Linked DNA regions of Homo sapiens: regions 1 and 3 are each linked to region 2. Evidence: promoter capture Hi-C in 16 types of primary human blood cells and fetal thymus (Javierre and others, 2016). All regions are on one chromosome and are shown on one strand. The core of a region is centred on a gene start or on the middle of the fragment in contact, and the rest is flanking DNA. Distances in the headings are between cores, read along the strand shown.

Region 1 (4,885 bases), core at 862-3,361, 690 kb after region 2:
AAAGAATGAATTTGTGACATATTGCAAGGATAGCAATTGCTAACCAGAAATAGGTTGGAGTCCAGAGTTCAGTGTCAACACAGAAACAGATTAAAGAAAGTGGATTGAACAGGTTGAAAGACATGGACAAACACAAAATAACAGATGAAGAGGGGGTAAAATTAAGTAACCAAAAAGAGATTAGGGTGGAACAGCATGTCTTAGCTCACTCTGCACTCTCTGCCTGGGACATTTTCAGCTCCCACACCCCCTCAGTCCTTGTCTGCCTTCTCCATCTAGTTGCTTCTTCCTCAGTTATTAAGATTCAGCCTAGATATATCACTATGGTATTTTAATTCCTTGTAAGGATGAAGATGACAATGTTGACAATAAGGATGATAATAATAATTATCTAGACCAAATTATCTTTTATTTTTCTTTTAAAGGCAAATAAGGACATGGTAGACATGAGCAGAAAATAAGCATTTCCTATTTGATTTCTTCAGTATTGTCAAGCCAAGCCTTATGTTTTTTAGGGGAAGTAGATCTGGTCCAGTGATGTTGACATTTCTCTGTGGTTTTGTAGAACTGTTGGGTTCCTTTAAGTAGTTGACTCCTTAGGAGTTTAGGGATTTCTGACCCTCCTCATGGGCAGACTCCACCCATTCTCCAGACTGTCATTCCAAAACCTCTTTCAGGGTACACAGCTGCGTTGTGTGACATTTCAGAAGAAAGCTCCACCAATGTGCCCGGGAAAATCCCAGCCAGCATAAGGGGCCCAGTGTTTACAATCTAACTCCAGACCACTGTGTGTCCTGGTGGGGGTGCTACTAGCTGAGTTTCAAGCATGAAGCTTGATTTCAAGCTAGTAACAAGAGAGTAAGGAAAGAAAGGTTCTTGGTGCAGAGAGGTCTCATGGCAGCTGGTCTATGAATGTCTTTCAGGTGCTTTGTGGGCTTTCTTTCAGAATATGAAGGTTGCTGATGAGGGAATGTCTCTGGTTTTATTTATACTGTGAACTATGTGTTTACTTGTCCTTTTTAGTTCAAATGATAGACATTGCCTCACCCATGTACAACACCACTCATCTTCCATTTATTCTGGAAACACTCAACTGGGGAGTGCAGGCTCATTCTGGGCATCTCCAGTCCTCATGAAGTGTTCTGTAAATCTCCCAAATTGGAGATCCAAATTCCCTGAGAAGGCAGCTGATGGGGAGAAAACATCATCTATCTTTCCTTTCTTCCACCCAAATATTTATCAAGGCATAATTCTGGGCATAGAACTATGCCTGATGTGAGGTTTGCAAGAACAAGAGAGGATGAACAATTTTTGTTTTTGAGACAGAGTGTCACTCTGTCACCAGGCTGGAGTGCAATGGCACGACCTTGGCTCACTGCAACCTCCACCTCCTGGGTTCAAGCGATTCTCCTGCCTCAGCCTTCCAAGTAGCAAGGACTACAGGTGCGCACCACCATGCCTAGCTAATTTTTGTATTTTTAGTAGGGATGGGGTTTCACCATGTTGGCTAGGGTGGTCTCGATCTCCTGACCTCATGATCCGCCCACTTCGGCCTCCCAAAGTGCTGAGATTACAGGCATGAGTCACCGCACCCAACCAGGATGAACAATTTTTATGGAACATCTGCAGAGACACAGCCATGCTCCTCAGCCCACTCATGTGAATTCGTTTTTAATCAACAAAACACTGTAAGATACATATTATTATTCTGGTTTGTTCTCCTCAAGAGAAAGTAGCCGTGTAGGAATATTAACTTGTCCACGTTCATAAAACCATAAGCAGCTAAGCAGTCAAGGGAGGAATCTCTTGACCTGGATCTAGCATCTGCTTCCTACACAGCCCCCATCCCTAGAGCTGGCTCCTAGGATCCCACCTCTCATAAGGTCAGTTAGATGGGTCCATGCTTCTCCTCCTGGAGATGTAGTCCCAGCTCCAACAATGTCCAGATCTAGTGTCTGCAGTCTCCTACATTTCTCTTGAGGCCTTTCTTCTGCTGCCTCCTGTTCCTCTTCCGCTCCTGTTTACTGTCTTCGAGAACCTTTTTTGAGCACTCGTTCACTGAGCATCACTGACTCCTTGGTATCATTAGGTCATAATGTCCCCTCGGTTAACAGGTCTCAGTTCCCCACTAAGTGCCCCTTGTGGTAAGGAAGTCTGTTCATTGCAATGAGTATTTAAAGTACCATCTAGCAGGGGAAGAGGACATTTTAAAGAGATTGTATGGGGTTTATAATAATGTCCCCACCAAGTTATCAGAAACCACACTGTAGACTCAGTCATCCACCCTACTTATATACGTGATGAGTTGAGTCAAAATGAATATCCTAAAAACTAAGAAGAGAAAATTGTCCTAATTAATAGCTCCCAGAGGCATGGAGAAGGCACAGCTGTGGATTATGGCGGTAAGGGGAAGAGGAGGAGCCTGATAATGTCAGGGAGCTAGAAACAGTCCAGTGTGTGGAGCTCAGCCCTGGAAGTCTACAGCCCAAACAGTAAATACAGGAGTTTAAAATGCAGGGGTTTGTGTACAGCTATGCTCTTAGCAGCATTATTCACAGTCACCAAAAAGTAGAAGCATCCCAAGTGTCCATTGATGGAATGAATGGAGAAAGAAAATGTGGTGTATATGCACAATGGGGTATTACTCAGCCTTAAAAAGAAAGGAAATTCTGGCACATGCTATGACATGGATGAACCACGAGGACATTATGCTAAGTGAAATAAGCCGGACATAAAAGGACAAATGCTCTATGACCCCACTTATATGAGGTACCTAGAGTAGTCAAAATTATAGAAAGAAAAAGTAGAAGAGTGGCTGCCAGGGGCTGGAGGGAGGGGAAAGGGGAAGTTGTTTAATGTGCATGGAATTTCAGTGTTGCAAGAGGAAAACATTCTAGAGATTGGTTGCACAATAATGTAAATGTTCGTAATGCTACTGACCTGGGCACTTAAAAATAAGATGGTAAATTTTATGTTTTTATGTTGTATGTATTTTTCCACAATTTAAAAAAAAATACAAGTTTTATCCAGATGGGTTTCTACAAACCCTGAGGATATAATTTGTGAATTGGGGTAGCAACTCTAGTTAAGGTCCAGACAATAAGTGGGTTGATGAGATAGAGGGAAAGAGAGGGCAGGGAGCAGAGAACTTCAGGTATTGGGGAGGTGGAAGGGAAGTTTCCAGACCCAGAGGTTGAGATGGAGTCTGCCCTCTGAATAGCCAGCGAAGAGCATTTCAAGGAGACAGTACAGTGAGTACAGTCTCTTCCACACAGGGGAAAAGCTGCAATCATAGAACAAAGGTGACTTCCCAGCACATGAGCTTGCTAAAGGGAGAATGGGCAGAAGTGAAAGAGGAGGTAAGAGACAATTGCCTATTTCAAAGCTTCCAATGCAGTGGGAAGCAGCTGAAATTTTATGCTAAAAGTAATTGAGCATGATTTTCAATAGTAGAGCATTAACTGAGTATTAATGTTAGGATATAGCATAGAATAGCAATATTTCCAAGGACCTGAGCCAGCAAGACTGCACTGGTAATGATGAGATAAAACTCTGTCGGTCAGACTTCTTCATGGGGAAGGAGTCAGGCTGAGTGAGGTCAGATCTGACTCTAGAATGCCCATAACCCCGTAAGCTTCCAGGGAGCCCTCCCATCCCCTCCAGAGCACAAAGCCTATGATCAGAGACTCCCTGAGTTCAAATACTGACTCCTCCCCTTAGCAACCGTGTGACCTTGAGCAAGTTACTTAATCTCTCTGTACCTGGTTTTCCTCATCTGCAAAATGAATGTGCTAATAACAGGGTATCACATTGCTGATATGAAGATTTTGTGAATTATGAGTTATCCTATGTGCTCATAATCATGCCTGGCACCTAATGAGAGGTATCTGAGTGATAGCTGTCAGGATTACTGTGGTTACATTGGATTCTCAGGGCCCCTGGATGGGGCCAACACACAGCAGGATCTTTGCCTTCAGTTTAGAGATGAGGAGACATGATCTCATGTTGATAAATAAAAAAAATACATGTGCTTAGGTCTAAGGCACCCCGTGAAGCAGCTACACAGAGATGGTGTTTGAATGAGCTTAATGATGGTACAGTGTAGGGAAAAGAGACTGCTCCAGGTGACCAGTGTGCAGAGGAGGGACTTTGGTTTAGCAGTGGAATCTTCCTGTTTCTCCATTTGCATCAGTTCTTCCACAAACTTGGGGCCTGAAGGTCCACCTGGGTTGCGTCGCATTACCTCTCTAGGCTTGAGCACAGAGGGGAGGCCCTCTAGCTGCTCTTCTGGAGCCCAGGTGGCATGTACAGGATTGGGAGTCATCTAGCTGGCCTTCCCTAAGCCTCAGCTTCCACATCTGTAAAGCAGGGTCATATCGCCCATCTTGCAGGATAGCTACAGGGAAGGATTAAATAGCATGAGGCACCATCCAGTGTCTAGTGTATGATATGTGGTCAATGTGTGTCTTGCCTTTCCTTTCCAGAGCTCATGCCAATGTTTCACATAAGAAAATGACTGAAGGAAAGTCTTCCTTAGTCTACAGCCACCTCAGCAGAGTCACAGTATCTCCATTGTATTAGTCTGTTTTCACACTGCTATGAAGATACTACCTCAGGTGGGTTATTTATGAAGGAAAGAGGTTTAATTGACTCACAATTTTGCATGGCTGGAGAGGCCTCAGGAATCTTACAATCATGGTAGAAGGCTAAGGGGAAGCAAGGTATATCCTATATGGTGGCAGGAGAGACAGATGCCATAGGGGACACTCAGATCTTGTGAGAACCCCCTCATTATCACCAGAACAGCATGGGGAAAACCGCTTCCATGATCCCCATGATCACCTCCCACCAACTCTTTCCCTTGACACATGGGGATTAGAGTACG
Region 2 (5,003 bases), core at 1,380-3,879:
GCCATTAATTATATACTTTCGAGTGATTTACATCCAATTCCACAAATGTGTCTTCATTAATTGAAGGCATTCTGAAATATTACTGGCAAATAGAAAGAATAGAGATGTTTGCTGATTGAAAATGTGCAAATCACATAGTAAGGCCGTGGAAGAGCCAGCTGTGGACTCATCTCTCCATTTACGAACCTGGATTCCCCCACAGAAAGGGGCCATCTCTTAGTCATTTCCATCTGCCTATGGCCAGGACAGTTTCCAGTAATAATAGGTGCTCAGTAACTCTTCTCTGAATGATGAATGGGTAGGAGGAAGAAAATGCCATGGGAATAGTGGAGAAAATCATAGCTTTCCAAATAATTAACCCAGAACCATCATCCACAGTCCACAATTTCTTCTTTTAATTTGTCTTCAGCAGTCTGAGGTAATTGGGTTTTGAGACAAATTTTAAATTGTTTCATTTCCAAAATTCGTTTGGTCACAACATCTAGGAGCAATCCATCTGCTAATCAATAAACAACATTTAAACGCTGCTGTGAGAAAGGCAAACCGGCACAAAACCAATACTGTCAGCAACCCAGAACAACTCTAATTTCCTGACAGAAATCGATTCACAGCAAAATAATGATTATTGTAAATATTTATAGTTCTAAAAGGAAACGCTCATCAATGCAGCTTTTTGAGCAGTTCATTTCCAAATAAAGATTCTGATGGGCCCCACCTAGCCATGTATCTTGTGGTGGAGGACGTGGTGGCTGTGAAGCGACTCTGTGGCTGTCTTGGAACTGGCTCTCTTGGAGGCTCTCCTGGAGGCCTGGGGGGCAGTTTGGGTACATTTTAGATGTGGTGGGGAGAGGAACACTGGGCATGGAGAGGCGAGATCCACACCTGGCTCTTCACTATTTTGCTGTGTAATCTCAGAAAGCCATTTGACCACTCTGAACATTCCATTTTCTCATCTGGAAAAGGACAATAATCATATTGCCCAACTTAACCTTCCAGATTGCGAGGATGAAATGAAGAAGGGGGAGGCTATATCTGTGAGCATATATTTAACAGACTGGACAACTTTAGGGTCTTTTCATGGTTCCGTATTTCCCAAGAACAGGGTTAAGGAGCAGGCGGGCAGTCTCCTGAGAAATCAGATGAGTCATCCTGAAGCTCAATGCCCAAGGGAGTTTTCCTCCTAAAAAATAAGTGACCCCAGAACGAAGTGTTCATTCAGTAATATGACTATGCAACAGGCGCTGAGAAAACAAGATGAAAAGGACCTATAAGGGCTGCTCAGGAAGCTCAGTCTAGTGAGGATGAACGCTGTGCAAACAGAGAAGTGGGGGATGGAGCTAGGCCAGTGAGACCAGAGCTGTGGGAACATGAAGTGTGAACTTCAGGGCTGTCCGAGAATTTCATGTTGAGCAGCAACCAAAGAGGGTTATTCCAGGAAAAGAAGAACAGGCAAAGACTAGCATTTCAGGGGAACCATGAACACAAATCAGTTTCCCAAACTTCAGTCTCCTGAAGTCTGCTTTTACACTTTTTTTTTTTGGGGGGGGGGGGGCATGTCTTTGCAGCATGTACACCATTTTAAGTTGACTGATTTTTGAAAATGTAAACGAACAATTTAAAAACTTTATATGACTACTGTAAGTGAAAAACGTTATTTGTCATGAACAGAAAATGACCTTAGAACATGGACCACATCAACTCATTACTCATGAAATAAATAACTGTCAGGCTCAGTTTGTTTCTGAGGCTAACGGGGTGACCATTGACAGAGGTAAGGGAGGGAGATAATGACAGATAGGAATGGATGCTACGTAGAAAATATGAAGTGTCTTGGAGGGTTACTTTAGATGGGTTTCGGGGGGTGAGGGTTAGGGGCTGGAAGATATCATTTGAGCCGAGGACTACAGTGTTGGAGCTAAACACCTTAACATCAAAACCAAAAACAAAGTCATTAAATTTCCACCAGACTCAGCTGCCTGCCGAAGGCTGTGCCACAAGCAGAGAAATGAATGAGCGGGTGTTGGAGGCGCGCACATCCAGTGCAGACTTGTTGTGGGACAAAAAGAGACGAGAGAGGAGGAAGTCGCCTTGTCACGTGTGATCGTAGGCCGCTCAGTGCTCTGTAGCCCCTAAAACCCAGCCGGGTGGCCCAAAGGAAAGCACCCCACGCTTCGGGAAACGCCGCAGCTTTGAGCGGGATGCAGGTTGGGAGCACCCCGATGGACACATCAGTAAACTGAGAGCAAGAAAAGTTAATTCGCTGCCCCAAGTTAGGTAGTGAGAGGTAGAGCTGGGACACGAAGCGCACCCAGAACTCTCCTTGCACGCCCAGCTCGGCGGCCCCACATGCCGCGGGTCTAGGGTCGCGCTAGCAGAGGCCTGGCACAACCGCCAGACTCCTGACCCCGAGATCCGCGCTCCGGACCTCCCGAGGGCCCCTCCCTGGGCGTGGCTCAAAACGCGGCGCAGCGGAATCCGTGAAGTGGGATAAAAAGCACGGCCTCCGACTGCGAGCATGCGCGTTAGCTCGGCCCTGCCGGGCCGCGCTCGGCGCCGGGGGAGGGTCACCCGAAGCGGACGTCCGCTACGCAGGCGTCTGCGCCCCGTGGGGAGGAGGGCGAAGACTCCATCCGCCATGTTGGATGCCGCAGATTCGCCATAACCTCGCCGGCTCTTTTCTTAAAAAAATAAAAATAAAAAGCGAAGCGTCAGCAGGGCGCCCCGCCCCCTCGGTCGGCACGGGAGGGGGCCCGGAAGAGCCCGAGGCTTTTTTTTCCTCCGCGGTGGGGCGTTGCCATGGAGACGCGGGCGGCAGGTGAGCCGGGCTGGGGGTTGGGGTGAGACGGGGTGGGGGTGGGGCGCGGCGCGGCGCGCGGAAAGCCGTTTCGAGCGTCGAGTCGGGAAGCAGTGCGCCGGCCGCCGGCCGCCGGCCGCCGGCCGCGGAGGGATCCGGGTCTGGGGAGGAGAGCGAACGTAGTTGCGTTCTGCGGCTCACGTTCAGTCGCTGGGGTATCCCGCCGCAAAAAAAAAAAAAAAGCAAGGCGGGAGCGAGTGGGAGAGCATGCGCCCGGCCGTTTCCACGGCAATGGGTGGCGTTGGGGCGCGGGCCAGCGACGGAACGCAGTGGGCGCGAGGTTCGAATCCCGGCGATGCCAGCTCTTTGACTGGACCTTGGCGGGGCTTCCTTCTTGCCTGGCCTCGGATTCCTCCTTGGCGAAATGAGTACCTCCTGCAGGCTTCCCGGCCGCCGGCTGGACCTAATAGAGTGACAGATCTTCCACTTGACACCCGGTGCAAGTCATTTAACCTTGAGCTTGGGGTCCTTCACCTGTAATTACCACAAGCTTCCACATTTGGGCACTGACTTAACACGTTTTGCTGCTCAGCTCTCTTGAGAACTCTAATTTGTAGGTCATTTATTATGAGGAACAGAAGTTCAGAGAGGTCAACTTTACACAGTTTAAAAACGACAGAGCTGGGGCTTTAAAAATTAACTTCCTCCAACTTGGGCTAAAATCCAAACTCCTGCGTGCTCGCCTGACTTGTACCTCCATCTTCTTAGAATAGGGCTTGGCTCATGTAAGTGTTCACTATATACTTAGTGAATGAAAGAACGAACGCGCTAACTGATCACGCCTGCCCATCAGTCTGGCTTTTTTTGCTGGAGTCCAAGTGACCTTTTGGAGATGCCCCGCACAGCTGCCTCTCACCAGCTTTATCTTCCGAGCCTACCAGTTCATCTACTGAAACATCTGTAGTGTGTGTCCCCATGCTGAAGGAAGTAGCGTGTCCTACCTCTAACCCCCAGGGACACCTTTCCTGACTTTAGTTCAAATAACAGCTTTGCAAGGATCCCCTCTGCACGCCAGGCAGGGGTAAAGAGCAGTCCCAGTCGTAGTCCTGCCTCCACCTGCTGCGGTGCTAGATGTGGGAGAATGTGTCCTGGAGTGACAGAGTGGGCCCAGAGCCGAATATTGGGTCAGGAGACCCGAACTATATCAGGCGTGCTTTTTTTTAATTTAATTTTTTTAATTTTTTGGGACAGAGTCCCGCACTATCACTCAGGCCGGGGTGCAATGGTGCAATCTCGGGTCACTGCAACCTCTGCCTCCCGCCCTCAGGTAAACCTCCCGCCTCAGCCTGCCAAGTAGCTGTGACCACAGGTGCGCTGATTAGCTGTGGTGCCCAGCTGATTCAGGTGTGCTGTCTTAGGTTAGCCTAAAATGAGCACCGGAGAGACTTGCTCTCCAAATACAGGTTGAGCATCCCTAATCCAAAAATCCGAAATCGGAAATGCTCCAAAGTCTGAAACTTTGAGCACTGACATGAGGCCACAGTGGAAAATTTTCTATCTGACCTCGTGAAGGTTCTCAGCAGAAATGCAGTTCCATAGCCGGGCGCAGTAGCTCACGCCTGTAATCCCAGCACTCTGGGAGTCTGAGGCGGGAGGGTCCCTTGAGTCCAGGAGTTCAAGACCAGCCTGGGCAGTGTAGTGAAACCCCATCTCTATTTTTCTCAAAAAACAAAACAAAACAACAGTTGCACAACTGTAAAGACGATGCTGTTAACACTCAGAAAGAAATGCAGGCTGAACAGCAGACTTAAAGCCAGCCGTTGTTTATTGTTCTGTTGTTTAGCAGCTGATGCATGTGTTCTGGTGATGCTGCTGTGCCGCTTAGGTACCTTGAACACCTTGTTTTTCACTGTATTAATGGTGTGTCATATTTTTTACTGGTAAGGACTTATGTGTAAATAAATGTAAGAAAGTGATTGTCTTATTGGTAGCATAGAAATTCAGAGTCGGGAATGATGGCGATGCCAGACAACCACAGATTGCCCATATGTGTGGCTGAGATAGTGACACCTTTGCTTTCTGATGGTTCATTGTACACTTTGTTTCATGATCAAAATTAAAAATATTGTAAAATTACCTTCAGACTGTGTGTATAAGGTGCACATCAAACATAAATAAATTTCATGTTTAGACTTGGGTCCCATCCTCA
Region 3 (4,972 bases), core at 1,788-4,287, 670 kb after region 2:
GTTAAAATGCACACACTTTACAACAGAAGAAATTCAAATCTGCCTCGGTTCTGACAGAAAGAGGATGCTGAGGGACACCTGCATTTAAGTGGTGGCTGTCAGACAAGGCCAGGAGAGCTGTAAGCAGCATGAGCTGTCTACACCCTGACTGCTGGGTGAGAAGTCCACAGGGAAAGAGCTTTGGCTGCAGTTGGGTTGTCTTCATATTATCTTGCCTCATGTCTGGCTCAGTTGCAGTAAAGAATACATACTGTCTATAATTATTTAACTACCCTTTTCTATTCTTAACCACAAACTAAAAGTCAAGTCATTTATGATACAAATATAATGGGATAAACAGGAAATTAAGAACTCTACAAAGCCATTCACATTTACCATAATGAATTCTGCTGATTAAAAAGCCCAAACAGACTCGTTAGTGTATTCTTTATTGTGTCTGCATTTTGAGTTTATGTTAGACTTTCTCCTTTGCTTTCTGGTGATCAAGAAAATCTAGGAGATGTATCTGTGATGATACTGAGGAGGATTTTCTCAACCATAAAATGTCAGGGCTGAAAGGAATTGGAGTAAGTATGTGGTATGCACCTTTACTTCACAGATAGGTGACTTGGAGCTTTGAGAGAAAACAGTTATTCAAGGTTTTAACCAAAGATTCCTTGACCAGTGCTCTTCTGAGTACAATGGGATCTGTGGAAATTTCTCTTCCATCCTAAGAGGGTCTCTGTCTCGCAACTGTCCCTGAAACTCTTAGAGAAAGAGCAGTCAGCTCTCACTTCCTGGTTTAAGTTCATGATTCTTACATGCTGTCTTCTCTAACCACATCCTCTAAACACAGTTTTAGGCAAGCCAGAACAGTTGCTCACCCTAGGAGAAATGGATAATTGGTGAAGAGTATTACTGCCTGCTACATCCACCATGCAAGAGACTTAAGCTTTCAGAGCCTCAGTAACTTTGTGCAAAAAATGAGAATAATACTGGCCTCAAAAGCTGTGTGTGATGTGTGAATGATGTCAGGTTGTGTTATCTAACTAAGATTAATGAGGAGAGGGGATTGATTTATTCTAAAGAATTGGCTCACAGGATTATGGAAGCTGGCAAGTCGAAAATTTGCAGAAGAGGCTGAAAGCCTAGAAATTCTGACAAGAGTTGATATTTTTGATGTTGCAGCCTTGAGTTTCAAGGCAATCTGGAGGCAGAATTTCTTCCTCATGGAGGAACCTCAGTCTTTTCTCATAAGGCCTTCGACTCATTGGGTGAGGCCCACCCACATTATTAAAGCAGGGGGTTAATCCACTTTATTCATGTACTGATTTAAATGTTAATTACATCTAAAAATAACTTAGAAGCAACATCTAGTCTGGTGTTTAACCAAACATCTGGACACAAGAGCCTAGCCAAGCTGACACACATGATTAACTATGACACATATTCTTAGCATAGTATGAGCTTCTAGTAAGTGTCAAGTAAATGTTAGGACTTTTTCTTGACTTTCTTTTCAAAGCATTTATTAGTTTCTTTTATCATAGGAGATGCTAATTTTGAAAATTCAAAATTATCAAACAAAAATGGTGCGATATTTCACAATACAAAAATTCTTCTGGGTCATTACGGTTATGTGATAGGCCATTTTCTTAAACACAATTAACTGTATGATTGAGAGCTATGTTTAACAAACATTGATTAAATATTCATTACATACTTAGAGCTCTTCAGGGTACTAAGGCTATAAATAAGAAAGGCAGCATCCAGTGTCATCAGATATCCCCAAATCCAGTGAAGGACTGGAAGCGTATTTATCATTAATTGGGGTGAATCTTGTAATAGCATATGTACAAGGCAACACACAAATACTGTGGAGGGAGAAACTGACTATGCCAGGAGGCTCAGAAATAGTTCCAAGGACATGTGACTTTTATGCTGGCAGGCAATGCTTTAAAAGCAGACTAAGTATAGCACTTTGCACCGCACAAAGCAGGAAGATCTGAAAGAACATTCATAGTATAGTCAAGTGATGGCAAGACACTCACAGGGCCTTCAGAGCAGAGTGAACGGAATGTTATCTTTCAAAATCACACTGGACCTTCTCATCCATCTCTCTAGGAGTCTGCTGGGCTTGCCTCTTTGTGCTGAAATTGAGCATCGTAGCAGGGCCTGAAGTTGCTTCACAAATGGGGTCCTTTGAATGTTCCCATAATTATCTCTGGGCCTTTCTGCACACAATATGCCTGTCCAGGACTGCATGCTAATGATTCTTCCTATAGTGCTTTCAGCTCATCCCTGTTTCTCATCAGACAAAACCCACATGTACTTCAATGCTCAGATTGTGTGAAATCTTCCTTCAACCCTTTTCTATCTTCTCAACAAACTTAATTGTTTTCTCCTCTGATCTACCATATGACTCCAGACATATTTCTATTGCAGCATATAATACTCTATAATGTAAGGTTTTTTTTTGAGACAGAGTCTTCTCTGTCACCCAGCCTATAGTACAGTGACATGATCACAGCTAACTGCAGCCTCAACCTCCCAGGCTCAAGCTATCTTCCTACCTCAGCCTCCTGAGTAGCTGGGGCTGAAGGCATATCCCACCACACCCAACTAATTTTTTTTCTTAACTTTTATTTTCGTGGAGACAGGGTCTTGCCATGATTCCCAGGCTGATCTCAAACTCTTAGGCTCAAGTGATCCTCCCATCTTGGCCTCCCAAAGTACTAGGATTAAAGGCATGAGCCACCATGCCTAGCCCTGTAATGTAATTGTTTATGTATGTCTATTTCTTGGCCCCACAGGGTTAGAGTTCCTTCAGGGAGGTAGTTGTTTTACACACTGTTGCATGGTAGGATCAAGCTCTGTGGCCAGCACAAACTGGAAGCTCAGTATTTGCTTATGGAATTAATAAAATTTAAATAAAAACCAGGTGCTAGACACATAGTTATTGTTGAGTAGAAGCAAATGCATTGCAAGTTAAATTAAATATCTGTGACTATTTTAGAATTAGTATTTTTTCATGATGTCAATGTCATAACTGGTAAGGATGCTGAAAAAGACAAATGTGTTGAAATATTTTTCTGTGAGTTTGAAACAAATTGCCTGTCTTCTATTATGCAAATCCAGAATGTTGAGTCACAAACAATGGATCATTGCCCCTCAGATTAATGAAAAGAATGATGAAAATAAACCTCAGCTCTGGTTTAAAAGCACTTGAAAAGTAATGCCTCAAACAAATACAACTATAGCATAAACTGAGAAGGACCAAGAAAAGTATTCTTTTTAAAATTTCCCTTTATTTCTGGAGCAAAATTTATTTCTTTTAAAAAATAGTTATTCTTCAATCATTGTACATATTAGTAGAACCATTCTACATACTGGTCATTCAATCATTCTACATACTAGTCCCAGAGAGATCTTTCCAGAAGACAATCAGATCATATCATTTCCTTGCTCAAAAACATTCAGGTGTTCCCCATTACCAATTGATTGAAATTGAAACCATCTGGCTCTAACCCACTGCCTGATGTCAATAATGTAAAAAATATTTATTTACATTATTTATTACATAAATATAAATATATAATTATGATTAAAACAGTAGTGTAAATTATTTCCCTTTATTTCTTGAGTAGATTTGCTATAGAATTGCCATTTTATTGCTCTATTTTTGTCTTCTTATTTTTTCCAAAAAAAATGGCTTTTGGTTTATTGAGTTTTTTATCCTTTTGTTTTTTCTAACATGAATTTTTACTCATATCTTTATTATTTTCTGACTCTATATTCTTTAGGTTTTATCTTTTTTTCTAGCATTTGTAATTTTTTTTACTGAACTATATATCCAGAAAAGTGCATAATTTATAAGTGTAAGTTTGATGCACTTTTAAAAAATGAAGACATACATGTAACCACAACACAGATTGGGAAATAGAATGATACCATCACCAGCTCTAGAAATCCTGCTTGCACCTCTTCTTAATCCTTCTTTTGCCTCCTTTATAAAGGTAACCACCACTCTGACTTCTAGCAGAACAAGTTAGATTTGTCTATTTTTGCAAGATATTTTGATGGAATCATAGAATACTTACTGTCCTGTATCTGGCTTTTAAAATTCAATATTATATTGAGATTTAAACCCATGTTGTTGGAGATATATATATATATATATATAAAATTTATTTTCATTGTTATATAATATACCTTTTGATGAATAATATATTGTGACTTCTTTTTCTATTTTATTTTTAATAGAAATTTCCATTTCTCATTATAAATCAAATGTTGCTATAAATATTCCTGCACTTGACTTTTTGTTGCTCATTGGTATGAATTTCTGTTGGATATATATCTAGAAGTAGAAATGTTGGGTCATAATTAAGGTCTATATAGATACTGCTAAACAGTTTTCCAGAATGAAATGAAGGTTACAATTGTTTCACATATTCAATAATCCTTGATTTGGTTCGACTTTTTTAAAATGTTGCCCATTCCTGTGGTGGGTAGTGATATTTTATTTCGTTTGAATTTGCATGCCTCTGATGGATCCTTTATTGAGCACCTTTTTAATCTTTACTGCCTTTTCTTTCTTGAAGTACCTTCAAATTTTTAAATCAACTTTCCTATTGGATTGTTTATAGTTTGCTTATCAATTCATAGGCCCTATTTATATATTCTAGATTAGATTTTTGTCAAATATATGTCTTATAAATATCTTGTCTCTCCCAGTGGCTTTCCTTTTTGTTCTCTTAACAATGTTTATTGATGTGAACCAATGTTCTTAATTTTAATGAAATCTAAATTTTTAGTCTTCTCTTACAAAACTAATAACTTTTATATCCTATTTATGAACTCCTTCAGACAAGCAGAAGACCCTCAGCCACAACCACTACTAAGGTCTCTTACTCTGCTGCCTCCAAATTGGAGAGGAAACATAAACCCTGAGAACATACCAAAACTGTGGTGGGCGGCCTGGGGGTGCCAATTT

What was found. Contacts are between HindIII fragments. The CHiCAGO score rates a contact against its expected background, and 5 or more counts as called.
Region 1: a contact is called between a fragment that was not itself captured here and the fragment with the promoter of ZFAT in region 2, in 1 of 17 cell types (monocytes). The highest score is 6.8, in monocytes.
Region 3: a fragment that was not itself captured here is called in contact with the fragment with the promoter of ZFAT in region 2 in 3 of 17 cell types (M0 macrophages, naive CD4 T cells and non-activated CD4 T cells); the score reaches 7.8 in M0 macrophages.

Annotation. Positions count from the first base shown.
Region 1 is chr8:134,019,492-134,024,376 of GRCh38, reverse strand. No RefSeq gene overlaps it. Among named protein-coding and RNA genes, the nearest start is that of LINC03024, 340 kb to the right of the region's middle. The HindIII fragment of the contact is 2,553 bases long and covers 835-3,387 here.
Region 2 is chr8:134,710,657-134,715,659 of GRCh38, reverse strand. It overlaps ZFAT (zinc finger and AT-hook domain containing), which reads left to right and starts at 2,629. Exons shown (of 16, transcript NM_020863.4): 1 at 2,629-2,815. The coding sequence starts at 2,797. RefSeq lists an enhancer at 2,618-2,797. The HindIII fragment of the contact is 8,105 bases long and covers 1-3,346 here.
Region 3 is chr8:134,039,570-134,044,541 of GRCh38, reverse strand. No RefSeq gene overlaps it. Among named protein-coding and RNA genes, the nearest start is that of LINC03024, 360 kb to the right of the region's middle. The HindIII fragment of the contact is 4,207 bases long and covers 934-4,972 here.